Linked DNA regions of Homo sapiens: region 1 is linked to region 2. The links are contacts of gene promoters, found by promoter capture Hi-C in blood cells and fetal thymus (Javierre and others, 2016). All regions are on one chromosome and are shown on one strand. The core of a region is centred on a gene start or on the middle of the fragment in contact, and the rest is flanking DNA. Distances in the headings are between cores, read along the strand shown.

Region 1 (3,730 bases), core at 512-3,011, 190 kb after region 2:
TGTTTGTGGTAATTATAGCAGCAACAGGAAGCTAATACAACCAATAAAACTAGCGAGAGAACTTGTTCTATAGATCATTTTTACTTTCTCCCAAAAGTTCAAAAAAATCTTTTTTTTTTTTGTGAGGTGGGGGTCTCACTCTACTGCCCAGGCTGGAGTACAGTGGCACGATCATGGCTCACTGCAGCCTCAACCTCTCCAGGCTCAGGTGATCCTCCCACCTCAGCCTGGGACTACAGGCACGTGCCACCATGCCCAGCTAATTTTTTATCTTTTGTAGAGATGGGGTTTCACCACGTTGCCCAGGCTGGTTTGGAACTCCTGGACTCAAGTGATCCTCCTGCCTCGGCCTCCCAAAGTGCTAGGATTACAGACGTGAGCCATCACGCCTGGCCAAAAATATCTTTTTACAGTTCATTGGTTCATAAGTTGTATTACTTTAAATGTAATTAAGCATTTGTAGGGCCAGTGAATTTTTTTATTACTATCAGGTTTAAACTAGTTCATATAAATCTAAGCCAAATAAATAAATACAGGGAGTTGACTAGCTCACAGTCATTTGCTATTGACCTGAGCAAGTCACCTTCTTTCTGGGCCTGGGTTTTCTATTCTGAAAAGCGGGGGGTTGGATAAGAAGTTATGTCAGGGGCAATCCACGCCTGGGCTTCATGAGACCTGGGAATACCCTGAAACTGTATGCAAAAGAGGAAAGTGTTCTCAATCTGTCTGTGCTCCGAATTTTCTAGATGTGTGTTAAATACAGGGCTGGGTGCAGTGGCTCACATCTGTAATCCCAGCACTTTGTGAGGCCAAAGGACAAGGATCATTTGAGCTCAGGAGTTCAAGACCAGCTTGGGCAACATAGCAACACCCTGTCTCTATTTTTTTAAAAATAACACATTTTTTAAAAAATTAAAAAAAGAGAATGGTGTTAAATACAGGAACCTAGGCTTCCCTAGGGTGAAGGCCATGTCCAAGGGGGCTGGTATCAATTTAGAGATGTAACTGAGTCAGAGGGAGAAAATATCGTAAGCTTAGTCAACAGCATATTAGAAAGGAAAATGTGCCTGAGATGCACTAATTCAATTAGCTGTTGTCATAGTCACTGTCTCTGAGCAAGGGCTCTGAGCTGGATGCCAGACCAGCAGGGTGCCAGACTGAGAAATGAAATGCAGGATACATATCTAATTTGAATTTTAGACAAATAATGAATCATTTTTTACTCTAAGCGTAACTGTAATAGGTTAATTGCCTGACACTCCTGTCAAATCAATACACCCAGACACGGGGTTGCAGCAGAGAAAGAGGTTTAATACAGGTCCACTGAGAAGACAGGGAGGAAACTTCAAATCTATCTCCCCAGGGAGTCAGGGGCTGGGGGTTTTTTGTTGTTTGTTTTTTGTTTTTTTTGAGACAGGGTCTCTCTCTGTTACCCAGGCTGGAGTGCAGTGGCGCAAAAATGGCTCGCTGGAGCTCGACCTCCTGGGCTCAAACAATCCTCTGCCTCAGCCTCCCATACAGCTAGTATCACAGGCGTGTGCCCATGCCTGGTTAAAATTTTTTTTTTTTTAATAGAGACAGGGTCTCACTTTGTTGCCTAGACTGGTCTCCTGGGCTCAAGCAATCCTCCCACCTTGGCCTCCCAAAGTGCTGGGATTTCAGGTGTAAGCCACTTCGCCTGGCCTGGGGCTAGGGTTTTTAAGGGTTTTGGAGAGGGCTGAAGTGGGGAGATCGTTGATTAGGCAAAGAGTGCATGAAGTCATGGGACAAGGAAATGAAGAAACTATTCTTATGTTGCTTTCATTCCTCTGTGGAGGTCTTCAAACTGGTTGGCATCAGCTGTTTCACTGGAATTCAGGGACCTGAAAAACATCTTAAGCAATTCTTAAACAAAACCCTTATGATTCTTTTTTTTTTTTTTTTTGAGATGGTCTCACTCTGTTGCCCAGGCTGGAGTGCAGTGGCACAATCATGGCTCACTATAGCTTCAACCTCCCCAGGCTCAGGTGATGCTCCTACCTTAGCCTCCCGAATAGCTAGGACTATAGGCACAAATCCACCACACCTGGCTATTTTTTGTATTTTTTGTAGAGACGGGGTTTTGTCACGTTGGCCAGGTTGGTCACTGAGTTCAAACGATCCACCTGCCTCAGCCTCCCAAAATGCTGGGATCACAGGCCCAGCCAAGCCTTATGATTCTAATGTCAGAGATCCAATCTAAAGGAACAATGGGGATTCAAGTGGTCAGTATCTAGTGCTATGCGACTTTCTGTTACAAGGAAGTGGGTGAAAGTGCAGCCTCATTATGCTTAATTATAACTATATTTCTGTCCAAGATTCTTGTTAAGCCTGTGAGGACAGCTTCATAAGTATGTCCTAAACACTAGGGACATACTCATACTACAAAGTGACTCATTGCTTATCTGAAATCAAATTTACCTGGGAGTTTCTGTTTTATCTGAATCTGACTTGATCCTGCTCTTAGAGGACCAAGCTTCCAGAATCTAATGACCACCTCAAAATTAGTGATCAGGGCTGGTCGTGGTGGCTCACACCTGTAATCCCAACACTTCAGGGGGCCGAAGCGGGTAGATCACCTGAGGTCAGGAGTTCGAGACCAGCCTAGCCAACATGGTGAAACTGCATCTCTACTAAAAAGACAAAAATTAGCCAGGCATGGTGGCAGTCACCTGTAGTCCCAGCTACTCGGGAGGCTGAGGCAGGATAATTGCTTGAACCTGGGAGGCAGAGGTTGTAGTGAGCCGAGTTCGTATCACTGCACTCCAATCTGGGTAACAGAGTGAGACCTTGTTTCAAAAAAAAAAAGATTAGTGATCAGCACTGATGGGGGTGAGAGGTGGGAGCGGGGAGGTGGGTAGAGACCAAAGGAGATGATAAGAAAGAAAACAGAGGCCAGATGTAGTGGCTCATGCCTGTAATCCTAGCACTTTGAGAGGCCAAGACCTTGAGGTCAGGAGTTTGAGACCAGCATGGCCAACATGATGATGAAACCCTGTCTTTACTACAAATCCAAAAGTTAGCCAGGCTTGGTGGTGCACGCGTGTAATCCCAGCTACTTGGGAGGCTAAGGCAGGAGAATTGCTTGAACCCAGGAGGTGGAGGTTGCAGTAAGTCGAGATTGTGCCACTGTACTCCAGCCTGGGTGATAGAGAAAGACTCCATCTAAAAAAAAAAATTAAATTAAAAAAGAAAGAAAAAAGAGAAGGTTTGAGAATGACTTTAGGAGGGCCTGCAGCTAGAAGGAGCAGGTGAGTTATAATCTGATCATCTCTGGTCACCATAGAAACCAGCTGTAAATTCAGCCAGAATGAGCTGATGAGCTCCAATATCTATGCCTCTCTGCCAGTGTAGACAGTCCACACTCCCTTCCTCCAAGATCTAGTCTTGTCAGACCTGCTTCCAGCCGGAATCCACCCCAGTCCTCTTCCTCTCAAGCCTCTTGTTCCTCTTTCTAGCCACAGTTCCAGGTGACTGCCCATCAATACCAACCCCGCTGGGAGAGACAGGCAGCAAGATACCCAGTCCTTGCCCAGGAGGAAGTCACATTCTAGCCAGGGAGTAGACTACACTGGAGAGAAATGGCCCAAGGATACACAGCAAAAGCTTGTTTAAAGAAAAAACAAAAGCAGGTGTGACCTGGCTTGTCTGCCCGCATCTTTCTGTCCTTTCCAGGGTAAAGCAACTCTCTCTTAATCCAGAATGTAATTAC
Region 2 (3,587 bases), core at 239-2,738:
TTTAGTATAGGGGGGTCCTCTCTGCCCCCTTCTCACCACCTCGTCCCCATCCCACTCTCAGACCCCTCTCTCGGGAGAAGGGGCCATGTCTAGTGAGAAGTACCCCCAACCCTCAGGGCTGGGCAGCAACCACATGGAGAGGCAGAGGTGGGTGGTGAAGGACAGAGTCAGCCTGGCCCTGCCTTTCCCCACTTAAAATGCTCAGGGGCTCCGCTGTCCCCGGGGTCAGGTCCAGCCTCGCCTCCTTGCCCTGCTTGGCTCTCTGGCCTCCGCTCCTGCACCCTCTCTGAGCTGTAGACACATGGAACCTCTTTCAGTTCCAGAGTTTCAGCTCCTCTCTCAGCTCTGGGCACACTGTTTCCTCTGCCTCCTCAGTCCTTACCTCCTCTCCTAGCTCCCACCCGCTGGTCCTTCGGGTATTAGCTGAGTGTTACTTCCTCCGGGAAGCCTTCCCTGACCACCGGTCACCAGCCTGGGTGAGGGTGCTGCTTCTGTAGCTTGCATGCTGCACCCCCACCTTCTGTCTCACATACCTGTCCTGCTTGTTCCACGCCTGCCCAACAGATGCAGGCTCCTTGGGGCTGGGGCTGGGTTGTGCTCAGCTCTGTGTTTCTACCCCTATCCTTGGGACACAGTAGATCATAATAAATGGTCGCTGAATACAGGAGTGAAAAGGATGAGAAAAGACCAGACAGAAGAGAGGCGAGGGGCTCCCGGGGTTCCCGCCCATGAATAGATCTAAAAGAAGCCAACAGTGTCCCCCATCACTCTGGGGCCCAGGGAGCTACTGGCTGCCTGGTTTCTCCCAGTCACCCTGGGTGCCCCAGGCTCCATACCCGGCCCCCACCCTGTGCTCAAGGAAATCAACCTGCAGGAGAGGGAGAGAGAGAGAAGGAGGGGGTCCTGGGTCTCCCTGAGCTCAGGGATGTGGTCCTCACTTCTGCCTCCCCAGGCAGAGGGCTCTGTGCCCTGCCCGGGGAACTGGCATGTTGGCAAGCACAAGGAGACACAGGCATGGAAGAACAGGGGACCCTGATTTTCCAGAAATCACAATGGCCAGTCAGTCCCAGGCAGATGACTACCTGTGAAAAGGCTCGTCGCCCCAGCCCCTGCTAGAACTTTTCCCACCCATCCTCCCAGCCCTGTCCTATCCCCGGCCACCTCCAGAGCATGGGCTGGTCCAGCTCTCAGAGCTGGCGTCCCTCTGAGACAGCGGCTTCCCTACCTCGGAAAGTCACTTTGGCGATCCGGTCGCCCCTGCCCCGCAGCTCCGAGACTGTCTTGAGGTGGATGAGCAAGGCCATGCTGGTGTGGGCTGCCTGGCACTGCCAGGCAGGAGCAGCGGGAAGGAGCTAGCCGGTGGAGCACGGCTCACACGCCTCTCTCTTCTCTGCCGCTGCCTCCTCCTCCTCCTCCCGACCCCCCTCCGATGCTGCCCACAGAGACCAAGGCAACCAAGCCGAGCTAAGCTGCTCCTGCAGCGACTCACAGAGCCTCACAGCCCCCGCCCCTCCAAGTTGTCAGCCCAGCGTGTGTGTATCGGTGTGTGCGTGTGTGTGTGTGTGTGTGTGCACCCAATGTGCAGCCTGGGAGTGCGGCAGAGTTGGAATTCATTATTCAGCAGCCGCCGGCTCCCAGATAAAGCTCTGTCCAGCTTCAGGTGTCTTCTCCCAGCTCCTGGAAGGGAGGCTCTGCCCACCCCTCTGCAGGGCTCTGCTGCTTCCCTGCTAAGCAAGCCCTGCCACCAGTAGTGGGCACAGAGGAGTGGGCATGAGCATAGGTAGGGTGGATGTGGGGCGGGGGGCACTCCCACCCACAGGGGCACACTACAAGAAGAAGGGAATGTATTTGTCCACCTACGCCCACCTCTTCCCTGCTGGAGACTGTGCCCCCAAGAGGCTGGGCCCTGAGCCCTGCCCTGGGATCCCTGTTTCTGAATCTCAGGAAGCAGAGAGGCTGGGGCTGCTGCCTGAGGGGAGGCTCAGGACCAGGCCATGCATGATGGAGATGGCTGGTTGTGGAGGCAGCAGAGGCTTATGTGCTACCAGGGGCCATGTTTAAGGATCCAGGGCACTAACCTAGCCCCACCCCAAGGCTGGGGGTCAGGCAGGCTAGCGAAGGTAAGCCAGGCTGATGTTTGCTTTCCAGCCAGAGGAGCAGAATTGAATGGCCTTCTGCTGTTATAAGCTGCTAGGGGCAGGAGAAGGGATGTCTATAGGGAAATTTCTAAGGACCAAAAGAGAACTGCCCCCTCCTGTCTTCCAGCAGCATACACCAAGGAAAGGGACGCTGGGGGCCAGAATCCCTGATGCTGGAATCTGTGCAGGGTCATCTGCAGCCTTGTTCTTGCTATTCATTCTTGGTGGAATGCCCTCCACCCCACCCTGGACTCAGCTTGAGTGCCTGCTCCTGGAGGTGCCTCTGTACCCGCACCCCAGCTGGGTTGGGGTCCTCCTCTGTGCTGCTCCTGCCTCCTCTCATCTTACTGAGTCCTGGGGCTGCTTCCCTTGCCTTTTCCCCTCCTGACCTCAGGAGGGCCCTGGAGCACAGCATCCCTCTACCCCAGAGCCCCACATGGTATCCTGTGCACCGTAGGATGCCCAATTACTGTTGAAAGGATAAAAGAGTGAGCTCAGGGATCTACCTGAAACAGAGTCTAAAGGTTAAAAAGAGAAATACTAATTTTTCACAGCATGGTAACAAGAGGTTACTTCTTTTGAATTCTGCATTCCAAATAACCTACAGTATGTCCCAAGAGCCTTCTTTCCTCCTTCTAGATATTTCCTTGCTACTGTGCCCTATTTTTCTTTTTCTACTTACGTTTTTTTCCTTTGCACTTTTTCCTAACCAATTCTTGCTTACCTTTCTCACATTTATCTAATCATATTGAATTTAAAAATGTCTTAGAGTATTCTGTTTATTGAATACAAGTATGAATGCTAAATTTTCAAAAGCTAGATAAGTTTAATGTCTTAAAAAAAAAAACACCTAAATTCACTAGCATTTTCCATCCATGAGGTCATCAGGTGATCTGTGTTTTTAAGGCTTGGTGACTACAAGGTACAACAACAACAACAGAAAATATCTTCTTCCTTGGTTCTCTGGAGGTCCTCCCCTGAAAGGAGTGAATTTCATGAGGCCTCTTATAGACCCTGTGCATCTTTAGGAAAAAGCCCATGATCCTGCCCTAGCCAAGGCATTGATCTATGCTGAATCTCACTTTCCACATCCATAAAATGGTAGCAATTCCACTCAGCAGCTCTCAATGGAGTCAGCTGGCCTTTCTGAAAACCTAAGAGACAGATCCCACTCTTTTTTTTTTTTTTTTTTTGAGAGAGAGTCTCACTCTGTCACCCAGGCTGGAGGGCAGTGGAGTGATCTAGGCTCACTGCAACCTCTGCCTCCCGGGTTCAAGCGATTCTCCTGCCTCAGCCTCCCAAATAGGTCAGACTATAAGCATGTGCTACCATGCCCAGCTAATGTTTGTATTTTTAGTAGAGATGGGGTTTCACCATGTTGGCTAGGCTGGTCTCAAACTGCTGACCTCAAGTGATCCGCCTGCCTCGGCCTTCCAAAATGCTGGGATT

What was found. Contacts are between HindIII fragments. The CHiCAGO score rates a contact against its expected background, and 5 or more counts as called.
Region 1: a fragment that was not itself captured here is called in contact with the fragment with the promoter of OTOF in region 2 in 2 of 17 cell types (M0 macrophages and M1 macrophages); the score reaches 5.7 in M0 macrophages.

The regions. Positions count from the first base shown.
Region 1 is chr2:26,751,737-26,755,466 of GRCh38, forward strand. No RefSeq gene overlaps it. Among named protein-coding and RNA genes, the nearest start is that of SLC35F6, 11 kb to the right of the region's middle. RefSeq lists enhancers at 1,301-2,048, 2,049-2,796, 2,797-3,544. The HindIII fragment of the contact is 1,461 bases long and covers 1,032-2,492 here.
Region 2 is chr2:26,557,268-26,560,854 of GRCh38, forward strand. OTOF (otoferlin) reads right to left here and starts at 1,489. Exons shown (of 47, transcript NM_194248.3): 1 at 1,226-1,489. The coding sequence starts at 1,304. RefSeq lists enhancers at 850-1,643, 1,644-2,436. The HindIII fragment of the contact is 8,824 bases long and covers 1-3,587 here.